Regions from separate parts of the Homo sapiens genome. Here region 1 is linked to region 2. The links are contacts of gene promoters, found by promoter capture Hi-C in human tissues and cell types (Jung and others, 2019). All regions are on one chromosome and are shown on one strand. The core of a region is centred on a gene start or on the middle of the fragment in contact, and the rest is flanking DNA. Distances in the headings are between cores, read along the strand shown. Region 1 has its middle 27 kb from the start of RBMXL2. Region 2 holds the start of CYB5R2 (cytochrome b5 reductase 2).

The links. Contacts are between HindIII fragments. The study calls those that stand out against the background at their distance.
Region 1: a fragment that was not itself captured here is called in contact with the fragment with the promoter of CYB5R2 in region 2 in 1 of the 25 tissues and cell types used here (H1 embryonic stem cells).

Annotation. Positions count from the first base shown.
Region 1 is chr11:7,114,454-7,118,446 of GRCh38, reverse strand. No RefSeq gene overlaps it. Among named protein-coding and RNA genes, the nearest start is that of RBMXL2, 27 kb to the right of the region's middle. The HindIII fragment of the contact is 6,701 bases long and covers 1-3,993 here.
Region 2 is chr11:7,671,650-7,675,537 of GRCh38, reverse strand. CYB5R2 (cytochrome b5 reductase 2) reads left to right here and starts at 2,038. Exons shown (of 9, transcript NM_016229.5): 1 at 2,038-2,119; 2 at 2,647-2,790; 3 at 3,015-3,087. The coding sequence starts at 2,713. RefSeq lists a silencer at 1,526-1,735 and enhancers at 2,256-2,355, 2,376-2,425. The HindIII fragment of the contact is 10,078 bases long and covers 1-3,888 here.

The DNA of each region.
Region 1 (3,993 bases), core at 1,183-3,682, 560 kb after region 2:
CATCAAGCTGCTCCCTCCACCACCCATCTGCAAGGTTTTCTCATCATCCATGTGTGTACCTTTGATGCACCCTCCTCAAAGTTTAATGTGCACTGAAATCAAGTGGGGATCTTGTTAAATGCATTTTAATTATAGGTGGAGTCTGAGATCCTGCATTTCTAACAAGCTCCAGCTGATACATCACTGCTGATCTGAGGACCACACTTCGAGTAGAAAGGATTTTTCTCACATCTCCACCTGTTTATAACATACATTCTTATATATGGTCTCTCAATCTCTGCCCTTTTATTTCCCCATTGATGCCTCTTTCAACGTTACTATGCCCTCTACTCCTTTCTGCTGATCCACTATGCATCTGTAGCTTTTATTCTGGCATTCAATAATGTTGTTATCTTCCTCACTTCATTCTTATCCTGTGCCTTAACTCGACACAATTCCTACTGCTCTTTCCGTTGGACTTTACTTTGCATTAGGAAAGCAAGCTGATTAAATGAAGCCACACTAGTGTGTTAGTTCCTAATAGCCATTTTATGCCTTTCTGGGTGTTTGTTCAATGAACCTCTCAGGAAAGTAGGCTGATGCAGGGAGATTTTCCTTAAATCATACCAAGTGGCATCACTGTGCAAGACCAGGCTTGTGGGTTGAAGGGAAGAAACAAGAAGAACATGGTCTTCCAAAATCTCTTAATTTTCCCTGAAACAGGAGTTGCTCCTTTCTCCTTCTCTGATTGCTTTTTGGGGCTTGGGGCTTGAAAATGCCAGGCATTTCAGACTCCAAATTCATAAGAGGCAGTGAGGATTATAGAGATTATGGTTTACAGACCCAAAATTGGGACACTGTGGTATAATGACACAGAATATCTGAAAATGTGACTCTCTCAGAAAATTCTATAACCCTGTTTGCAATGTAAAAATTGAATAAGGATTCAGTTTTGGCTCTGGTATTGTCTATGAATTTTTAAAAATGTTATTCACTCTTTAAAAAAACCTTTGTTTTTTTTAATCGCCAGACATAATAAAATCTATTTCAAAGATAATTACAAGAATTAAATCCCCAAATTTCTATATAATGTGAGAATCCAGAGGCAATTCGCCTCCCTTGTACAAGTAGTATTGCATTAAATCTTCACAACAATCTATGTCTGCACTATTTTTTTTACTGCAACTGTACAGATAAGAGAACAGAGAAACAGAAAATGTAAGAAATTGATCCAAGGTCACACCACTATTAAGTTGCACAGCTGATTTGAACTTTGGCAGTCTGACTCCAGATCCTGCAATTATTCTATTTTGGGCAAAGTATAATACAACATTCTTTTTGGACCTAATGCAAATTACCAGCAGTTTTCAGCATGGTGAGCATGAGCATTTTTACAGCACAGCCTACATCTGACTGATCTTTGTATCCCTCCTCCACCCCATCCCAGGTCTTGCGCTTTGGCAGTTGCTCAGTATATTTCAGTTAAACAAATGAAAAAACAAAACTCTATGGCAAGTGGCAAACAGTTCTGAATGGAGAATGTAAACTTTAGTCAACAAAAAAATTATCAAAGGCACAAAACTTTAATAAATGGCCAAGATTTCCAAGCAAATTTTTATTTTACTTTTCTACTAAAAGGTCAGAATTCATCAATCTTAAAATCCCTGGTAAGACTGAAGTTCAAACGAAGGATGTCTGTAATTCCCTCTTTTTATCCCTTAAAAGCATATAGCCCATTATAATAAAATATTTGCTCTTGGGCTTCTTCTGTCTTATTACTCTAAAAAAAAAAAGAGATGAAGGAATTGACACTTTCTTTTTATGTAACTAAAAATATCATAATATTTTTATTTAGTTTTATTTTAATATAAATAAAATATTTATATATTTTATTTTAAAATATAATGTTTTTTTAAAAAATCATGATTTAAAATCATGATTTTATTTTAAAATATCATGATATTTTATTTAGAGTTAATAGGGTAACATAATGCAGTTGATGATTTCCTGTTATCAAATCTGGATTTGGGTCTGGAGAGACCGATACACCTTCTCAAGAACAATGTACAGCACCAATACAGCGGTGTTTCTTGCGATAATTAAATTTGTCATCATTCTGCCAGCCACCTGAGAACTCTGGTGATGTAGTGACATTTATCTTATTCTGAAGACAGTATGGAGAAAAAAAGTCAAAAGTAACTAATCCATGAACACAGTAGTATTTTACAACGTGAGTTACAGTCTAGAATAAATATCTAATGTCCAAAAAGCCCAGCTGGACAATAAGGAGACTAATTTTTGACCTCCTAAAAGTCAGTGTAGGAACTCAGAAATAGTTATTAGACTTGGAAAGCAGATTACTATGATATGTGATAGTTAAACTTCTTTTCTGTTTCCAGAATTATCTCTGTTTCCCAAGAGATTGCTTTTTTCAATATGTATACCTTAGTCATGCTACAGGCATTCCTTAAATATATAATGGCTCACAGTTGCCCATTCATATTTAAGAATAAGGGAGTAGTATTGACGAGCTCTGTGTAAATAAGTGGAATTTAGCAACTGGCAGGCTTCACATCTGTTCATATATACCAAATTATTGGCCCATGAGCCTAATCAGGACTCATGTAGTGATTTGAACTTTATAAATTAGATTGCAAATAATCTAAAACTGGGAAGTCTCACATAAAATTTATATTTCTGATTTCTTTTTAAAAATAACTGTAAATGTTCTAGCAATACTAGGCCCACATTGACAAATGTCAGCAGACCAGTTGGTAGCTATTCTGCTTGAAGCCCATTTTACACATGTGTATATGTGTGACCTATCTGCTTCTTATTGACATCAGAACTGAAAATATCTACTTGAGAGTAAGAAGGCAGGAGATGAAACTTTATGCTGGAGAATTCTTACATAGTAGGATGAAGACAACTTTATTCTGAAGTGCCACACCCGACTAGCTGCCCTTGCTCTCTCTGGACAGATCATTTGCTTGTCTGTTTTCTTTTATTCAATATAAAAACTAAACTCCAGGTGCAGGGAATGAAATCGATCATACTCCACAGGTCACTATTAGTCTGTGCAAGGCACTTCTCTTATTATAGTTTAGTCTATTTCTTTTTTCTCTTAATTTCCCATCCACCCTTTGTACTCTGTTCCATTGTTCTTTTGTCATTCTCACCTTACTTGGCTATGTAATCAGTCTTAAAGTCTGGCAGAATGAGCTTTCCTTTTGTTCTTTTCCTATTATCTCATATGGTTTGTATTCCATTTCCCTTCATGGGCACCCAGTTAAATGCATTCCATAAGGTCTTAAACATGTATGTATTCATGAAAAATGGGAACATTTTATATATACTTTAGTGTTGTTTTGCAATATGCATTTTAAATTTACCTAAAGGATATTTTATTGTAGATTTCACTCTCTTATTTTTCAATCAACATTGTTTTAATTATCTTCCCATATTGCTCTGTGTATAACACATTCATTGATTCTGAAAAGTAGGAGGATGAACAGATTTGGCAACACATTGTTTGCTGGCAGCACTAAGAATCTACTTGATATATATGACCATAAATTTAAAGTGATACCAGACAGCAGTGTTTTGAAAATTTCCCTAACCATATTTATCTCCCTTGGTATAGTTGTGAAGTGTGGAGAGTTAGATCTAACAGGGTTGGGGTTTTGCCAGGTGAAAATATCAGAGCAAGAGAGAGACAAAGGAGTTAATGAAGTGATTAAGTTGAACCATAAAATGTAACCTGGGTAGGAAAGAAGTGAAGACATGAAGAAAGGAAGGTTTTATGAAAAATGGTAGGTTTAAATGGATTCCTGGTTGCAATAAAGATGGTGCCTAAAAGATGAAGCATAAGGTGGTAGCTTCTTGTTTGAGAGCAAAAAGTAGGAGTAGAGGTAATGGAGGGATTGCATTAAAATGCAATGACTAGTTTTAAGGTATGACAATGGGCTTACAATTTAATGTCCCCCACCCAAAATGCAGTGACATGTATTCTTT
Region 2 (3,888 bases), core at 789-3,288:
CTTGGGTAGAAATAGACAAGTCACAAAAATCACTAACCATAACGGCAAAAAAATTGAAGATTGGTATATTTGGTTATACTGCAATTCAAATTTCTATTCATCAGACTACACCACAAAAAGGTGGGACAGAAAAGAAAGAAAGAAAAAAGAAAGAATAAGTTACAAATTACGAGAAAACATTACTAATTCATGTAACTGGCAAAGAAGGGATATCTAAAACATATAAAACCCCTAAAAATCAGTAAGAAAAAGACAACAGAAAAATGAGCAAAATTTATGAGCAGGCATTTTTTTTTTTCTGAAAAGGAAACTCCATGGGAAATAAATATATGAAAGGTGCTCAAACTTATTAGCAGTTATTAGGTAATGCAAATTGGATTCCTGATACATCATTTTACACTTATCGCATTGTCAAAAATTAAAATATCTGCCTATAATAACCAAGCACCTGCAGGTAAATCAAAAGTAAAGGCATTTGATTAAGTCAAAGAGAGAAAATTAAGTTTGTTTATTCATTCACACAGCAAGAATTTTTGAGCCTGTGGTGGTGTGTGTCTTGGGGAGAAGGGTTGGTAAAGTGTTATGGGTTATTGTTTTCACCCTGATTCTTATGTTGAAGCCCTAAGCCCCAGTACCTAAGGATATGACCTTATTTGAAGGTAGAGCCTTTACATAGGTAATCAAGTTAAAACAAGGTCATTAGGATGGACCCTAATTGAATATGACTGGTGTCTTCATAAAAGGGGAAATTTGGACACAGGGACACACACAGAGGGATGAAAATGTGGAGACATAGGAAGAAGATGCCCCTTCTCCTAGCCCCTCTCCTACAAACCTAGGAGAGGCATGGAACAGATCCTTCCCTCACAGCCCTCAGAAGGAACCCACTCTGCCCACACCTTGATTTTGGACTTCCAGCCCCCAGACCTGCGAGACAATAAATTTTTGTTGTTTAAGCCGCTCAGTCTGCGGCACTTTGTTACAGCAGCCCTAGCAGAGTCAAACAGGTGGGGATCTGCTTCTGGGCTTCTCTGTTTCACACAGGTCCTGAGGCAAGAATTTGCCTTTGCCTGTAATCAAGGGCGAGCCGGGCAGCCAAGGTTCCGAAACGCACCGTGAAGACCCTCTAACTGTGCCTACTATTCTGCTCCCCTCCGATCGGCGCGGGGCTCTTGTCCTTCCTCTCTCCACCCAGCGAATGAATGAACGCAGGAGCGCTCGGAGTACACGTCTTCAACTCGGCGACGCCCCTGCTTCGGCCCCACCCCGCAAACACCCGCCCCGGACCAGGCCCAGGGTAGGCGCCCATGAGGTATGTCGAATGAATATATTCGCGCGCTCTTTGCAGCTGCCTGAATTCTTCCTTCCCCAGCATCCCCCTCCGCCCGGTCACCCAGACGGCCTTCTCCAGCCTTGCCGAGCTTAAGTAAGCTGAGGGGCGCTCAGTGTGGCAGCTCTGCGTGTGCAGGGAAGGGGCCAGGATGCAGAGGGGCAGCGCAGGAGCGAGGACGCCACGGCTCAGCGCCCCGCCAGCCTCATGATGGAGCGCTGCCCTGGGGGCAGGGCTGACCCAGAGCCAGCGGCTCGTGAGTGAGAGCCCCCCGACCACGGCCCTTCTCGGGGAGCGGGCCAGCCGCCGGGGTCCCAGCCTGCGGGGTCCGCCCGCGCTTTTGTCCTCCCGGGCGTGCGTGTCCGGGTCTCGGCCGGTTCCCCGTCGGCCAGGCGGAGCTGCGGGGCGACGCCACGAGTCTGCGGGCCCGCGGCGGGGAGCGGCCCCCGGCCAACCCCAGTTCGACGACGTGTTGGGCGTCTCACTCCGGGTGGGTTCCGCGGCGGGGTGTATTTATGGAGTATTGAAGAAATATCTCCGTCGGGACGGCCGGAAGGAAAGAGGCCAGAGGCGCGGAGGCCGGCTAGAGCCGGGAACGAACGTCCGACCGGGAGGTTGGGGGCCGGAGCGGGAGGCGTGGGGAGAGGTCGTGGGCGGGACCGCGAAGGGCGGGGAGTGGGGCGGGCCGGCTCGGATTCCGGAAGGCTGAGACTCCAGTGACCCGGCGGGAGGAGAGGCAACTTTCCCTGTCGGGCTTGAGTTGGGAGAGGAGCAGGGCGGCCTTGTAGGGTAGGGACAGATGCGGGGAGGCTCCCGAGTCTCTGGCAGTTGAGTGCCCAGGCCCCCTTCGCCCTGTCCAGGAGACTGTTGGGGAGTCCCCAGGCCCTAAGTCACGGGGCACCTCTTAGAGCTACGCACCCTAGTTCTGTCTTTAGGGACTGGGCCCCTCATTCCGGATTGTGTGTTAGGGGTGATGTCCTCCCCCTTCACCTCAAGGAAGGGACTTCCAGTGTATGAACCTTTGGCTGTAGCCAGGAGGGGCCTAGTGACCTGAGCACCCCAGGCCATGTGTGCTGCCTGCTCCAGGGGCCTGAAACATCCTTCCTGTGTGACCTGCAGCTGACCCCTCCCTACCCTCTGGTCCACGACAGGCTCTCCCAGCCGCCTTCTGTGTCACTACTGTTCTCTTTGCCTATTTCCTGCAGGCAGAGCTCAGCTCCTGTGCCTTTGGTGTGGGGAGGGTGTTCTGCGCCTGAGAGCTGCCCTGTCCAGGGCGGGCAAGACCTGAGGTGCTCTGTTCACATTGTGTCTGCCAGGACCCGTCCCTGCTCCTGACCATCACCGTCACTGGGGTCACTGTGCTCGTGTTGGTCCTGAAGAGCATGAACTCCAGGAGGAGAGAGCCAATCACCTTACAGGACCCTGAAGCCAAGTACCCGCTGCCCTTGATTGAGAAAGAGGTAATGGGTCAGCCCTGTGGGTGGAAGGCAGTAAGTGGATGATGGCTGGGATGGCAGGGCATCCAGACAGTCATCTCATGGCCTCCAGTTCACTCCCCGCCGCCCTGTGTGTGTGTGTGTGTGTGCTGGAATAGCGCCAAACGGACCTCCTTTCCCAGGCATCTCAGCTGCCCAGCAAGGCTTCTAGAAAGCTGACAGAACCTGCCTATGTTTTGTTTTATCAGAAAATCAGCCACAACACCCGGAGGTTCCGCTTTGGACTGCCTTCGCCGGACCATGTCTTAGGGCTTCCTGTAGGTGAGCCGGGCTTGGGTCATCACCAGGACTGGGGCCTCTGGGGGCTAGGCCCTCCTCTCTTAACAGAAACACAGGTTTCCCACGTCCTGAGGTGTGGAAGATGCCCTCTTGCTCCTCCTGAGCCTGTGAGCTCAGGGAGATAGATAGGGGGATGGATGTGGGACAGAAAATTTCTTTTCTTCATTATTCCAATTGGGCTGACACGAGAGTGGTACCTCAGTGAGCATTGAAAAGAACTGAACCTAGAGCCAAAAGGCCTAAAATCTCATGGAAGGCTCCTTGCTGGGGAACTTAAGGGAAGTCCTTCAATCTCTCTGAGCCTCAGTCTATGAAATGGGATTTCCCAGGCCTGCCTGTCTACCTCACTTGGGTTGTTGTGAAAGTAGAGTGACTGATGGATATGAAAATTCAGAAACTACAAAGTATTGTGCACCTGGGAGGGATGGGAGGAACCAGTGGTCGGGGAAAGGCCCAGAATGTGCGGGTAGGCAGGAATGAGTCAGGTGTGCCCTGCCCCCAAGGTCACTTAGATTCTCTGCAGGGGCCTCAGACCCACATAAGGAGGGACCAGCCCTACGAGTTGCAGATTCCAGCCCTAGGAGTCCTAGAGTTGAGTTATCCCATTTCTAATCTGTAACACCACTAGATAGCTGAGTCAGTCTTAGTGCAGTAGAAAACTGCTAGAATCAGGGATTCAGAGCAGCTTTGTATAATCTGCTAGTGCTGCTTGCCTGCCTGGTGGATCCTACTCCGTGGCCTATTTGTCTTATATGCACAGGCCAAAACCTTGACCTCAGCTCT